Regions from separate parts of the Homo sapiens genome. Here all the other regions are linked to region 5. The links are contacts of gene promoters, found by promoter capture Hi-C in blood cells and fetal thymus (Javierre and others, 2016). All regions are on one chromosome and are shown on one strand. The core of a region is centred on a gene start or on the middle of the fragment in contact, and the rest is flanking DNA. Distances in the headings are between cores, read along the strand shown. Region 1 overlaps C12orf43 (chromosome 12 open reading frame 43). Region 2 holds the start of HNF1A-AS1 (HNF1A antisense RNA 1). Region 3 overlaps P2RX4 (purinergic receptor P2X 4). Region 4 holds the start of LOC105378258 (a long non-coding RNA gene). Region 5 holds the start of MSI1 (musashi RNA binding protein 1).

The links. Contacts are between HindIII fragments. The CHiCAGO score rates a contact against its expected background, and 5 or more counts as called.
Region 1: a fragment that was not itself captured here is called in contact with the fragment with the promoter of MSI1 in region 5 in 2 of 17 cell types (naive B cells and M0 macrophages); the score reaches 7.4 in naive B cells.
Region 2: the fragment with the promoter of HNF1A-AS1 here is called in contact with the fragment with the promoter of MSI1 in region 5 in 3 of 17 cell types (activated CD4 T cells, total B cells and naive B cells); the score reaches 9.2 in activated CD4 T cells.
Region 3: a contact is called between a fragment that was not itself captured here and the fragment with the promoter of MSI1 in region 5, in 1 of 17 cell types (naive B cells). The highest score is 5.3, in naive B cells.
Region 4: a contact is called between a fragment that was not itself captured here and the fragment with the promoter of MSI1 in region 5, in 1 of 17 cell types (naive B cells). The highest score is 5.7, in naive B cells.

The regions. Positions count from the first base shown.
Region 1 is chr12:121,003,875-121,006,717 of GRCh38, reverse strand. C12orf43 (chromosome 12 open reading frame 43) reads left to right here. Exons shown (of 6, transcript NM_022895.3): 4 at 324-397; 5 at 1,625-1,715; 6 at 2,229-2,843. The coding sequence ends at 2,565. Among named protein-coding and RNA genes, the nearest start is that of C12orf43, 11 kb to the left of the region's middle. The HindIII fragment of the contact is 4,279 bases long and covers 1-2,843 here.
Region 2 is chr12:120,971,025-120,973,734 of GRCh38, reverse strand. It overlaps HNF1A-AS1 (HNF1A antisense RNA 1), which reads left to right and starts at 1,443. Exons shown (of 1, transcript NR_024345.1): 1 at 1,443-2,710. RefSeq lists an enhancer at 323-850. The HindIII fragment of the contact is 11,110 bases long and covers 1-2,710 here.
Region 3 is chr12:121,229,040-121,231,739 of GRCh38, reverse strand. It overlaps P2RX4 (purinergic receptor P2X 4), which reads right to left. Exons shown (of 12, transcript NM_002560.3): 8 at 2,641-2,700. Among named protein-coding and RNA genes, the nearest start is that of P2RX4, 20 kb to the right of the region's middle. RefSeq lists an enhancer at 1,184-1,233 and a silencer at 1,180-1,474. The HindIII fragment of the contact is 662 bases long and covers 1,100-1,761 here.
Region 4 is chr12:121,092,264-121,094,963 of GRCh38, reverse strand. LOC105378258 (a long non-coding RNA gene) reads left to right here and starts at 1,969. Exons shown (of 4, transcript XR_007063492.1): 1 at 1,969-2,700. RefSeq lists an enhancer at 1,379-1,880. The HindIII fragment of the contact is 1,179 bases long and covers 720-1,898 here.
Region 5 is chr12:120,367,766-120,370,465 of GRCh38, reverse strand. MSI1 (musashi RNA binding protein 1) reads left to right here and starts at 1,302. Exons shown (of 15, transcript NM_002442.4): 1 at 1,302-1,433; 2 at 1,593-1,633; 3 at 2,193-2,274; 4 at 2,374-2,458. The coding sequence starts at 1,375. The HindIII fragment of the contact is 14,859 bases long and covers 1-2,700 here.

The sequences.
Region 1 (2,843 bases), core at 1-2,500, 640 kb before region 5:
GATCTGCCTGCCTTGGCCTCCCAAAGTGCTAGGATTACAGGCGTGAGCCACCATGCCTGGCCTCATCTTGTTTTACTATGTCTTTAAAACTTCTTCAACACTTACTGGAATAAAGTGGGCTTTAAAGAAATGAAGCACTGCAGTTCGCGTGGCAGAGGCTGGTCAGCATGTTATAACCAGACCATCAGCCCTCTTACTAGGCCAGCACGCTTTCGCTTTTGCATTTACAATCACATACCCCATCCCCTCCACTTGAAAAAGAATTTTGTTTTTGTCGTTATCCAAAAATCTCATCTTAAATCAACCGTCTCGTCTCCCTGTAGCTTCATTACCATCTCAGAAGCAGCAAAGGAGCCAGCAAAAGCTAAGGTACAGAAAGTCGCTTTGGAGGATGATGGTGAGTGGTTATACTTAATAGAAGCTATCATTTATTAAGCACCTAATGTGTGTCTGGAGGTGGGCGAAACAGTTTTGGTATATTCTTTTTTTTTTTTCTTTTTTTGAGATAGGAACTCTCTCTGCCACCTAGGCTGGAGTGCAGTGGAGCAATTATAGCTCAATGCAGCCTCAACCTCCCGGACCCAAGCAGTCCTCCCACCTCAGCTTCCTGAGTAGCTGGGACCACAGACACACACCACCACCCCTGGCTAATTATTTATGTTTTTTAGAGACAGGATCTCGCTATGTTGCCCAGGCTGGTCTTGAACTCCTGGCCTCAAGCCATCTGCCCACCTTAGCCTTCCAAAGTTCTGGGACTACAGGCGTGCACCACCACACCTGGCTAATTTTTGTATTTTTTTTTAGAGACAGGGTTCTGTCATGTTGCCCAGGCTGGTCTTAAACTCCTGGCCTCAAGCTATCCTCCCGCCTCAGACTACCAAAGTACTGGGGTTACAGGCATGGGCCACCTCACCATTCTTTCATCTGCTCAGCCCCTGTGGTGAGGCAGGTATTATGATTGAACCCCATGTACAGACAAGGAGACTGAGGCCCTGAGAAACGAAGTCATTTGCCTGAGGCGGCCTCGTCTGTGTCACCCTGAGCAGGAGCACTTTACTGCTGCCCTCCACAGCCTCGCCCATCTGCGTCTGTCCTGTACCAACACATTTGCCACTTTGAAGGCTGCCTTAGGTCAGGAGCTCAAGTGCTGACTTCCAGAAGCCTCTGAGGGCTTGCTGAGCTGATGTGGCTGCTGGCTCCTGCTCCAGCGCGCCCTCCACTGGCTCCATCAGGCATCAGCATGACCCTTGGCAGATGCAGAATCACTTTGTAGTTAGACGACTGATTCCTGGGTCTTTGCCTCTGGACCAGGAGCTCCTGAGGGCAGAGGCGGGGCAGCTTCAGCACCTGGCACCTGGGAGGAGGGGCTGGCATCTGGGGGTGCTGACTCTGCTCCTTTGTTTTTTTTGTTTGTTTGCTTGGTTGGGTTTTTTTGTTATTGTTTCTTTTTTAAATTTTTTTATTTTGTGTCTTCTTAAAATTTTTTTTTTGTTTCTCTTTATCTTTTCTTTCTTTCGTTTTCCTTTTTAAAATTTTTTTCTTTTTTGTTTCTTTATTTTTTATTTTTTTATGTTTCTTTTTGTTTTGTTTTGTTTTTGTTTGACTCTGCCCCATTGAATCTTAGGTTTCCGCCTTTTCTTCACATCTGTCCCTGGAGGCCGTGAGAAGGAAGAGTCTCCCCAACCCCGCCGAAAGCGACAGCCCTCCAGCTCCAGGTGAGAACTCACACCTCTCCTCACGTCCCCTCCTTTTTTCTCCTCTTCTGTCTTGGTGGGTTCCCTGGAATAGCCAAGCAGACTCCAGTCAGGACCAGGCCAAGGCAGTGGCCCTGTCAGGCAGCTGGAGAAATCATGAGCTCAGCGGGAGGGAAAGCCCTCTTGGCGGCAGCTTTGGATGTTTACTGCTTTTGAGCACCTGTCTTGGGCCAGACACCTCACTTGATCATAGTTGCCTCCTGGGACATCCCTGGGAGGCCTGGACTCTGTTAAGATCCCCGTTTTAGAGATGATACAGTCAGAGAGGTTAAGTCACTTAAGGAGGTCACAAGGCTGCTACGCCCAGAAGCCAGTATTGGAAGCCAGGTTGGCCTCACTCCCAAGCCTGAACTCACTACCTGCCTCTCTCTGCGGCCACCTTCTGGTGACCTGGACCAAGGGAGGACAGCGAGAGGCAGCTCTGGGGCTGTGTCCTGACTCCAGCTAACCCAGGGTACCCTCTCGTTGCAGCAGTGAGGACAGTGACGAGGAGTGGCGGCGGTGCCGGGAGGCAGCTGTGTCGGCGTCCGACATCCTACAGGAGTCAGCCATCCACAGCCCTGGAACAGTGGAGAAGGAGGCAAAGAAGAAAAGGAAGTTGAAAAAGAAAGCCAAGAAGGTGGCCAGTGTCGACTCGGCTGTCGCTGCCACCACCCCCACCAGCATGGCCACAGTCCAGAAGCAGAAGTCAGGTGAGCTCAACGGGGACCAGGTGTCGCTTGGGACCAAAAAGAAGAAAAAGGCAAAGAAGGCCAGCGAGACCTCTCCATTCCCACCAGCAAAGAGTGCTACAGCTATACCTGCAAACTGAACCCAGCCATGGGCACAGGGCTCAGCCAGCTCCAAGGACAAGGTGTCCCCCCCACCCTGGGGACAAGGCATTTCCAAGCCCCACCTCCCTCTCCAAGTTCAAGGACTGGGCTGGCAAACCCAGACTGCCCATGAGACCCTGATGGTGATGAAGGCTTGCTCGAGAGTTGGGCCAAAAAAGTGGCTGTAGGGTGAGAAGACCAATCAAGGCCTGCCCCTCTGTGCTCCCACGGAGGGCTGGCGGGGGCGCTGTGGTTCCAGAACATTTCATGACCTCAG
Region 2 (2,710 bases), core at 194-2,693, 600 kb before region 5:
GTGGTGCGATCTCAGCTCACTGTAACCTCTGCCTCCTGGGTTCGAGCAATCCTCCTACCTTAGCCTCCTGAGTAGCTGGGACTACAGGCACACACCACCATGCCTGGCTAATTTTTGTATTTTTGGTAGAGACAGGGTTTCACCATGTTTGCCAGGCTGGTCTCAAACTCCTGGCCTCAAAAGATCCACCCACCTCGGCCTCCCAAACTGTTGGGATTATAGGCGTGAGCCACCGTGCCCGGCCAAGTGCATTTTTTTGTAAACCCCCGTGCAAGTTGCTTTGAGGTTGAGCAGCTTACTGCTGGGGACAGCATTCTCAAGTCCAGGCTAAACAGGGAAGATGCTGTGTGCTGTCCCTTTGTGGCTTTGAGGTTCTCCTGCTTATTCTCTTTGCTGCCTGCAGCTGCCTCTTGGTGACTTTCCCTTTCCAGGGAGCCAGAGGAACCAAGGAGTGTTGGCCCTGACTCCTGCCCCCAGCATGTAAACTCATTAACTGCTGGGTCCTCAGGCAGTTAGGTGGCTGAGCATTTGAGTCTGGGACGGCAGGTGGATTTGGTTGGAGAGGGAATGACAGAGATTGGGGAGGAGCCTCCAGAGTCTAAAGAGATAGGTACACAAGCAGAAAGTTCCAGCCCCCAGCCTGCCTTTCCCCCATGCTCAGGGGACAAAGCTGAATTAACTCGAGGTCAGGAATGGCATTTGCATTTGCATTCTTGAGAGTCACTGCAAATAAGAGCTGTAGTCATGGTGAGTGGTTAAGGCAATGGACTAGAGAACCACTGAGAAAAAAAGCGAACAGTGGCTGGGCGCAGTGGCTCATGCCTGTCATCCCAGCACTTTGGGAGACCGAAGTGGGTGGATCACTTGAGGTCAGGAGTTCGAGACCAGCCTGGCCAACATGGTGAAAACCCGTCTCTACTAAAAATACAAAAATTAGCCAGGCTTGTCAGTGGGCACCTATAATCCCAGCTAGTCGGAAGGCTGAGGCAGGAGAATCACTTGAACCCAGAAGGCAGAGGTTGCAGTGAGCTGAGATCATGACACTGCACTCCAGCCTGGGTGACAGAGAGAAACTCCGTCTCAAAAAAAAAAGAAAAAGAAAAAAAAAAAAAGGAACAGCCGGACATGGTAGCTCATACCTGTAATCCCAGCGCTTTGGGAGACCGAGGCAGGTGGATCACCTGAGGTCAGGAGTTCCAGATCAGCCTGGCCAACATGGTAAAACCCCATCTCTACTAAAAATACAAAAATTAGCTGGATGTGGTGGCGCACACCTGTAGTCCCAGATACTCAGGAGGCTGAGGCAGGAGAATAGCTTGAACCCGGGAGGCGGAGGTTGCAGTGAGCAGAGATCACGCCACTGCACTCCAGCCTGGGCGATAGAGTAACAATCCGTCTCAAAAAAATCTGAAAATTAAAAATTAAAAAGTGAACAGTTGTTTAGTAAGTGCAGTAGGTAGGCCAAGATAACTATTAAGTATGTCCTAACAAGGTAGCTGCTTGAAAAAAATAATGCACATAAATTAAAAAAAAAAAAACTATTTTCACTCATTCTTAACTTCTCGTATGGATGTACTAACGGGAGGCCTGTGCCTGTTGGGCTGTCCACAGCTACTCAAACCTTGAGATTAGATTGGACGCTATCTAATCTCATTTCCTGTTACACAATAACTTCTGCATGGCACTTGCTTTTAATCATGACAACTGCCATACACTCAGCTTTACAAAATCATGTCATTGTGGAAAGGAAGTTCCCTCCATCTAACATTCAAATTTAACTATCCTGAGCTGGTAGTTTGCAAGGTGTCCAACAGATGTCACTGTGTTTCCTTCGCAAATTCTCTAAAATAGTCTGCTGTGTCCCGGGGCATAGTAGATATTCAAGAAATGGTGGCTATGAGTTTTATCACAATTCTCTCCTACTGGGTGAGCAGCTGTTTGCAAGACTAAAATTCGGGCGAGGCACAGGCTTCCCCTTGGTCTTAGCAGCTAGCACAAGACGAGTGTCCCTTCAGCCAGTCTCAGAGCTCTTTGGCAATTCAACTGACCCTTGTCCTTCAGTCCAGACAATGCCCCAGGGCCCACCTGCATTCAAACTCGGACTGTTCTCCTTCCCACCCCTATTATCTTTTCAACTTTATGGACAGTACATGCAATTTTCTCATTCATTTTCTCATTTAACATCTAACAGCTTCATGATATCCCCATTTTACAGATAAGGAAACCAAGGCTTTAAGAGGATAGGGACCCTAATCGGCTAAGGCAGAATTAGGATTTGAACCCAGATCCCCATGACGCCAGAATCTAAGCCTTGACCAAATATGTGTTACTATTACTTTTGTTGTTGTTGTTGTTCTGGGTAACTCCAACCCTCTGCTCGTTGGCCTTGTCACCTCAGTGCTGATTTTGCAGATGAAGAGACTAAGGTTCCGAGGTGCTAGAGCACAGTGGTTAGGAACACACACTCTAGAGCCAGAGTGCCTGGGTTTGAGCCTCGTTCTGCCGTTTACTAGCCGTATGGCCTTGGGCAACTTGCTTAACTTCTCTTTGCCTCAGTTCCTCTTCTCTTGGGTTGTTAGGAGAATGAATGAGGTGATATCCACAGTGTCCAACACCCTGCAAGCGGCCAGGTGTGGTGGATCACACCTGCAATCCCAGCACTTTGGGAGGCCGAGGCAGGTGGATCATTTGAGGTCAGGAGTTCGAGACC
Region 3 (2,700 bases), core at 181-2,680, 860 kb before region 5:
ACACAGTCTTCAACAACAACAACAACAACAAAAAGAACCACTCGTTCGTCACACAGATAAAGAGATGAACAAAACGTCGTCTGTCAACACAGCAGAATATGATTTGGCCATAAAAAGAGACGAGGTACTGACACAGGCTACGACATGGATGAAGCTTGAAAACATCAGGCTAAGGGGAAGGAGCCAGACGCAAAAGGCCACATATTGATTATATGAAATGCTCAGAAGAGGCACATCTGCAGAGACAGAAAGTAGACCACTGTTGCCAGGGGCCGGGGGATGACAGAAGGGTGCAGGGTTTCTTTTTGAGATGACGGAAATGTTCTAAAATCGACTGTGGTGAAGCCTGCACTTATCTGTGAATATAGTGAAAACTATGAATTCTGCACTTCAAATGTGTGAACGGTATGGCATGTGAATTGCATCTCAGTAAGACCATTTAAAAATATATGGCTGGGTGCGGTGGCTCACACCTGTAATTCCGGCACTTTGGGAGGCCGAGGCAGGTGGATCACTTGAGGTGAGGAGCTCGAGACCACCCTGGCCAATGTGGAGAAACCCCGTCTCTAATAAAAATACAAAAAATTAGCTGGGTGTGGTGGCGGGCGCCTGTAATCCCAGCTACTCAGGCGGCTGAGGCAGGAGAATGTCTTGAACCCGGGAGGCAAAGGCTGCAGTGAGCTGAAATCGCACCACTGCACTCCAACCTGGGTGACAGAGCAAGTCACTCCCTTAAAAAAGAAGAAAAAAAAAAAAATATATATATATAATGGCTATATATATAATGGCTATATATATATATACACATATATACATATACATATATGAGAGAGAGAGAGAGCGAGCACGCGAGAGAGCGCACACGCATGAGCAGGGGATGGATGGTTGGTGAAGAACCGTCAAGACATACCATCTGCTGCCCCATGTTCTCCAGGGATCCATCAGGAGCCTCGGCCCGCACCCTAGCTCCATGCTCTATCTGGCCCACAACTTCCACGCCATGGGCCAGGCCTGGGAGACACAGGCAGGGCCTGGTGCTGCCCGAGGTTGGGGGATAGGCGTCCTGAGTTCTTTCCGTTTTAGGGCTCTGACCTAAGCTTGAGGTTTCCACAAGAAGTGTGTGACAGTAGAGATGGAATAACACAAATCTAACTGCTAGAAAAGAAAAATTCAAATATCTGCTTTACTCAGTGAGCCAGAAGGTTCAAAAGGACAGCAGATCCCACAATTACAGAGGTCTTAGGATCCCGTATGGATCGGATTCCACACGTCACCACTAGGGGGAGGCAAGTGCAGCCCAAAGCACCGCTGACCGCGCCCAGGGATGGTCCTTGCAGGGCCTCTTTTTTTTCCCCCTGAGACGGAGACTTGCTTTGTCGCCCAGGCTGGAGTGCAGCAGTGCGATCTCGGCTCACTGCAACCTCTGCCTCCCTGGCTCAAGCGATTCTCCTGCCTCAGCCTCCCAAGTTGCTGGGATTACAGGCATGCGCCACCATGCCCAGCTAATTTTTGTATTTTTTTTAGTAGAGATGGGGTTTCGCCATGCTGGCCTCAGGTGATCTGCCCGCCTTGGCCTCCCAAAGTGCTAGGATTACAGGTGTGAGTCACTGCGCCCGGCCTGGAGCGCTTCCTTTTTAAGGACTGTGAAAAATGCAACAAAGGGTACGTGGAAATTTACCTGGCTATAGATTCTGATCATGAGATCATCAGCTGTAGTGGGTTGAACAGTGTGTCCCCAAAAATTCACATCTACCTGAAGCTTGGGAGTGTGACCTTATTTGGAAATGGGATATTGGCAGACGTAATTTGTTAAGATGAGGTCATACTAGAGTAGGGTGGGCCCTAAATTCAGTGACTGATATCCTTACAAGAAGAAAAGACACAGAGACACATACAAGGCAGAAGGCCTCATGACAGGAGAGGCAGAGACTGGAGTGATGCATCCACAAGCCAAGGAACACCGTGGGCTACCAGAAGCCAGGAGAGACAAGTAAGGACTCTCTCCAGAGCCTTCAGAGCGAGCACAGCCCTGCTGATGCCTGGATTTTAGGTTGTGGCCTCTAGAACTGTGAGAACTGTGAGAGAATCAAGTCCTGTAGTTGCAAGCCACTGTTTGTGGGACTCGCTTACATCTGCCCCAGGACACCGAGATGCCAGCATTTGCAGCAGGGAACCCAGCAAGGCCTTTCAGGGGCCTCAGACCTGTGTCCCCTGCACTCTGGAGATTCTGGCACAGGTTCAACCTTTGAGAAACCAATTCCTGGGCCAGGCCCCAGAGGCCTTTGGACTGGAGGATCACAAGATCATCCGCTCCTTGAGGCAGTGAATGGAGGTCATGGCTGAGGCAGGTGCTGGAAAGCTTAAGCCCCCAGCTTCTCCTGGCTGCTCTAAGAACCATCTCAACATGTTTCTTGCGGCAGGAAAGGGCAAGGAGGGGTCTCGGGGGCCGGGATGGCCCCGGAGCAGGACACCACTAAGGGCATTTTCCCAGCATGGCCTTCCCGCCGCCTTGGACGGGGGACCGGCAGCCTGCCCTTGGGGTGCTGCCTGAGTGCTGGTCTTCAGTGGGCGGCCCACTGGCACGTACGCAGCCACCAGCACCCCCTACAACATGAGCGAGGGGCCCAAGCTCACGCCCACCTGAAATTGTAGCCAGGAGATACGTTGTGCTCAACGTCCCGTGTATCGAGGCGGCGGAAG
Region 4 (2,700 bases), core at 60-2,559, 720 kb before region 5:
GGTTCAAGCGATTCTGCCTCAGCCTCCCGAGTAGCTGGGACTACAGGCGTGCACCACCACAATCTATTTTTGTATCTTTAATAGAGATGGAGTTTCACCATGTTGGCCATGCTGGTCTCAAACTCCTGACCTCAGGTGATCCACCTGCCTCAGCCTCCTGAAGTGTTGGGATTACAGGCGTGAGCCACTGTACCAGGCTGAGATCATGCAGTATTAGTCTTTCTGTGCTTACTTATCTCACTTAGCATAGCAGGTTCATCCAGGCTGTTGGAAATGGCAGGATTTCCTTCTTTTTTGGAGCTGAATAATATTCCATTGCGTAGACACGTTTCCCTCACCCATTCATCTGTGGATGGATGTTATTTTCCATAATGGCTGTACAAGTTTACATTTTTACTAACAGTGTACAGTGATCCCTTTCCCCCACATCCTCAATAACAGTTGTTATCTTTCCTCTTTTGGATAATAGCCATTCTAACAGGTGTGAGGTGATGTCTCATTGAGGTTTTGATTTGCATTTCCCTGATGATTAGTGCTGTTGAGCACTTTTTCATACACCCGTTGGGCATTTATATGTCTTCTTTTGATAAATATCTGTTCAGGTTCTTTGCCCATTTTCAATCAGGTGATTTGTTTTTTGCTACTGTGTTCCATGAGTTCCGTATATATTCTTGATATTGCCTCCTTATGAGATGTACGGTTTGCAACGTCAGGAAGCTTTTCCCCTGTGTTTTCTTCTCGTAGTTTTATGATTTCAGGTCTTACATTGAAGTCTCTAATCCATTTTGAGTTGATTTAGAATATGCAAAGGAAGCACTTGAAAAAGCCAGCACTAGGTTGGGCAGATCCCTCCTGTGGGAAACTGACTTGGGATAAGAGCAGGACTGCCTGGCCCCCCAGTGAGAGGTGACAGCGTGCTAGCAGCCCTCGCTCGCTCTCAGCGCCTCCTCTGCCTGGGCTCCCACTTTGGCGGCACTTGAGGAGCCCTTCAGCCCGCCGCTGCACTGTGGGAGCCCCTTTCTGGTCTGGCCAAGACTGGAGCCGGCTCCCTCGGCTTGTGGAGAGGTGTGGAGGGAGAGGCGCGAGCAGGAACCAGGGCTGCGCGCAGCGCTTGCGGGCCAGTGCGAGTTCCAGGTGGGCGTGGGCTCGGCAGGCCCTGCACTCGGAGCGGCCGGCCGGCACCGCCGCCCCGGGCAGTGAGGGGCTTAGCACCTGGGCCAGCAGCTGCTGTGCTAGACTTCTCGCCGGGCCTTAGCTGCATCCCCGTGGGGCAGGGCTCGGGACCTGCAGCCCCCCATGCCTGAGCCTGAGTCTCCCCAACCTCCACCCCGCCCCCGTGGGCTCCTGCACTGCCTGAGTCTCCCCGACAAGTGCTGCCCCCTGCCCCACGGCGCCCAGTCCCATCGACTGCCCAAGGGCTGAGGAGCACGGGCGCACCTTGCGGGACTGGCAGGCAGCTCCACCTGCGGCCCTCGTGCGGAATCCACTGGCTGAAGCCAGCTGGGCTCCTGAGTCTGATGGGGACTTGGAGAACCTTTATGTCTAGCTAAGGGATTGTAAATACACCAATCGGCACTCTATATAGAGCTCAAGGTTTGTAAACACACCAATCAGCACCCTGTGTCTAGCTCAGGGTTTGTGAATGCACCAATGGACACTCTGTATCTAGCTACTCTGGTGGGGACTTGGAGAACTTTTGTGTCTAGCTCAGGGATTGTAAATGCACCAATCAGCACCCTGTCAAAACGGACCAATCAGCTCTCTGTAAAATGGACCAATTGGCTCTCTGTAAAATGGACCAATCAGCAGGATGTGGGTGGGGCCAGATAAGAATAAAAGCAGGCTGCCAGAGGTAGTAGTGGCAACCCGCTCCGACCCGTTTTCATAGTGTGGAAGCTTTATTCTTTTGCTGTTTGCAATAAATCTTGCTACTGCTCATTCTTTGGGTCCACGCTGCTTTTATGAGCTGTAACACTCACTGTAAAAGTCTGCAGCTTCACTCTGGAACCAGCGAGACCACAAACCCACCGGAAGGAAGAAACTGCAAACACATCCGAGCATCAGAAGTAACAAACTCCAGACAGGGGGCCTTTAAGAACTGTAACACTGGCCACGAGAGTCCGCGGCTTCATTTTTGAAGTCAGTGAGACCAAGAACCCACCAATTCCGGACACAGTACTTGCTGCCTCTCTATATCATCTCCTCTGAAGGCAGGTATTTGCCTACACAGTCTGCTGAGTACTAAGTGCAACACACACTGCAGGGGCTTCCCAGAGCCCTACTCGGATTCAGGTGGATTCTTATGCAGATGGTGAAAAAGGTCAAAAGTTTGAACTGGGAATCAATTGCTGTAAGTTTCTCTATGATATTCTCCCAGCAAGATGTCTTCCTTGTAATAACTTGGGAGAACGTTGACTCCAGGGTAGGAGAGTGTTCCTGAGGAGTCGGCACACTTTATGGCTGGCCCCAGGCCGTGGGTCAGAAAAATCCACAGCTGGCCACACCATTCTGTGCAGCGGGAAAAACCATCAGTTGAAGGTACTGTGGAAAATCAGTTAAGCTCATTCAATCATCCTGGTTCCTGGTGGGTTCAGTGTCCCATATTTAAGACAAAACTCTTAACACTGTTATGCTGTGGTCTTCTTTGAGTTCATCTGTGAAAAATCTAAATTGTTAAGTCAATCACTAGTCTTACAACTA
Region 5 (2,700 bases), core at 53-2,552:
CCAGGCTGGAGGGAGGGAATTTTAGGGGTACGTAAGGTGACTCCAAGGAGCCTTGGGTGCAAGTACTGGGGGATCCCAGAGACCCAGAAGATGGGGGTAGAAAGGAAGGTGTTTGCCTTCACGGGGAGTAGCCTCAAAATAAGAGGGACTGAGGGAAGTCATTCCAAATGCAGTGGGTAGGTAGTTTAGGCTCTTCCAATGGGATGGGGTGGAGCTTAGACCTCTGCAAAAGAAGGGGGTCATTCGGAGGGGACGGTGCACAGCTGAGGCGTTGGGCTCCTAAACTGGAAACAGGAGGCTCTAAGAGGCACTGCCTTTTCCTCCAGCCTCGGTGTGGTGGGGGTGGTGAGTGTCTGGAACCGGGTTTCCCGAATCAGGACAGGAGTCTGAATGGATCTCACAAAAACCGGCCAGGGAGGGAGAGAACCAGGGGAGACTCCTCACACCGGGAGGTGGGGGTGGCGGCAAACTGAGAACCCGGGCTTGGGGCGCGGGATTTTCTCAACAGACCATAGGGTCCACTAATGTGGACGGCAGGGATTTGGGGAAACTAAGGGGGACTCTCACTTTGGACACCAAGGGCTGAGGACGGATTGGGGAAGAGGATACGGTTTCTACTGGGGTGCTGATGGAGGTTCCCCACTCGGGACGCGAGGCACTGAGTGGGTCCCCCAAACTGGATATGGGATCCTGGGAACGGAGCGAGGGCTCTAAATTAGAGCCCTGGGGTGGGGGTGGGGGGCTGTAAATTAGGTTGGGAGGAAACTGGGGGCTCTGAGGGCGGCTTCTCGCTCCGACTGGGGAAATGGAGCATGTGGGGACTGGGGAGCACTAGGGCTATCTCCCGCCCGACCCGAGGAGATTGGGGTTCTCTTCAATTCTGGACAGCAGGGACCTGAGAGGGAAGACCGGGGGGGTTCCCGATCCGGAACCGAGCTACCTTGAAGGCACCGGGAAGCGCTTCATTCCGGGAGGGCGTTCCCGCGGCCGGGCCCCCGCGCCGGGGTGGGTGGGGGGTGCGGCCGCGCCCTGGTCCCGGCCCGCACCGGGATTCGGGGGTCTCGCTCGGCCCCGGAGACCCAGGAGCCCCGCGGGAAGGGGGTCCCGGCGCCGCCGCCTCCGCGGGCGCCCGGGCTCGCGGGCGAGCGCGGGGCTTTATGCGCGCAGGGCGGCGGGGGGAGGAGCCGGCAGGTCGGCCCCCGGCGGGCCCTCCCCTCGGCCGTCCCCGCCCGCCCGCCCGAGCGGGGTCGGGGGAGGGGGCAGCATGGCCTGTCCGTCCGGCCCCCTTCGCCGCGCTCCTCATCTGCCCCGCGCCGAGCGCCGCCGCCGCCGCCGCCGCCGCCGCTCCGCTGCCCGCGCCGCCCGCGGCTCCCGATGGAGACTGACGCGCCCCAGCCCGGCCTCGCCTCCCCGGACTCGCCGCACGACCCCTGGTACGGCCCGGCCCGGCCTGCTTGGCCCGCGCCCGCCCCGGCCCCGCCAACATGGCCGATCCGGGTCCGGCCGGGCCTCCCCGGAGCCCGGGCCCGCGCCCCCTGCGCCCTGGCGCCCGGCGCTCACGCGGGCCCTTTGTGTCTCTCCTCCTCCCGCAGCAAGATGTTCATCGGGGGACTCAGTTGGCAGACTACGCAGGGTGAGCGAGCCCGGGAGCGCCCGCCGGTCCGGCAGGGCACCCCGGACCCCCCGGCGCCCCGGACCCGGACACCCCAGCCCGGCCCTGCGCCCTGCTGACCCCGGGCGCCCTCGCGCCCTCTTTCGCGCCCCGCCCGGAGACCCCGAGAGCGCAGGGCGATCCGCGAGCGCACCCGGCCCAGCGGGTGGAGGGGAGCAGATGAGGGGTTCAGGGGGTATCGGGGGGTGGGCTGGGCCCCCGGGACCCGCCGGCGGCAGCGCCAACTCCGCTCGCACCTGCGGCTCAAACTTTTGTGAGGCTGCTCCCGGAGCGGCGGGAACCCGGCCGGAGCCGTCCCCCTTCCAGCCCAGCTCGGCCCTCGGCTTCCCGGGGCCCCGGTGGGCGCCAGGAGGCTCAGCGGGAACGGGGCGAGGGCGGTGGGGGGCGGCGGCAGTGGAGAACGCGCGGGCAGCTTGGCGCGGGGGCGGCCGGGCCGCTCCGGGGTCACCGGGGGCAAAGGACGGGGGGGGGGGAAGGGCGCGGGGCCCGGGCTGGTCCGAAGGCGGGTGTGTGGTTACAGAAGGGCTGCGCGAATACTTCGGCCAGTTCGGGGAGGTGAAGGAGTGTCTGGTGATGCGGGACCCCCTGACCAAGAGATCCAGGTGAGCCCCTCACCCCCTCCTCCTGCTCCCGGCTCGCCCCCCTCCACCCGCCACTCACTGCCTTGTAACCATCTGCCTCTCCCTCACTACGGCGCGCAGGGGTTTCGGCTTCGTCACTTTCATGGACCAGGCGGGGGTGGATAAAGTGCTGGCGCAATCGCGGCACGAGCTCGACTCCAAAACAGTGAGTGGCCCTCGGGGCTTCGGGGGTCCTTTGGGAGAGGGAGGCTGCCGGAGGAGAGGGTCAGGACTCTCCCCAGGGGACAGCTGGACGGGGTCCATGAGGAAGGAGGGAGTTTTTCTGAGTAAGAGGGCTGCCATGCTCTGAAACTTTGTCACTAGAGTTGGGGGGGAGAGGGAGGAGAAAAATCCCTGGCCTGCCATGAGATGCTACATCCCCCCTCCCCTAGTCCTGGTGAGGGGAGA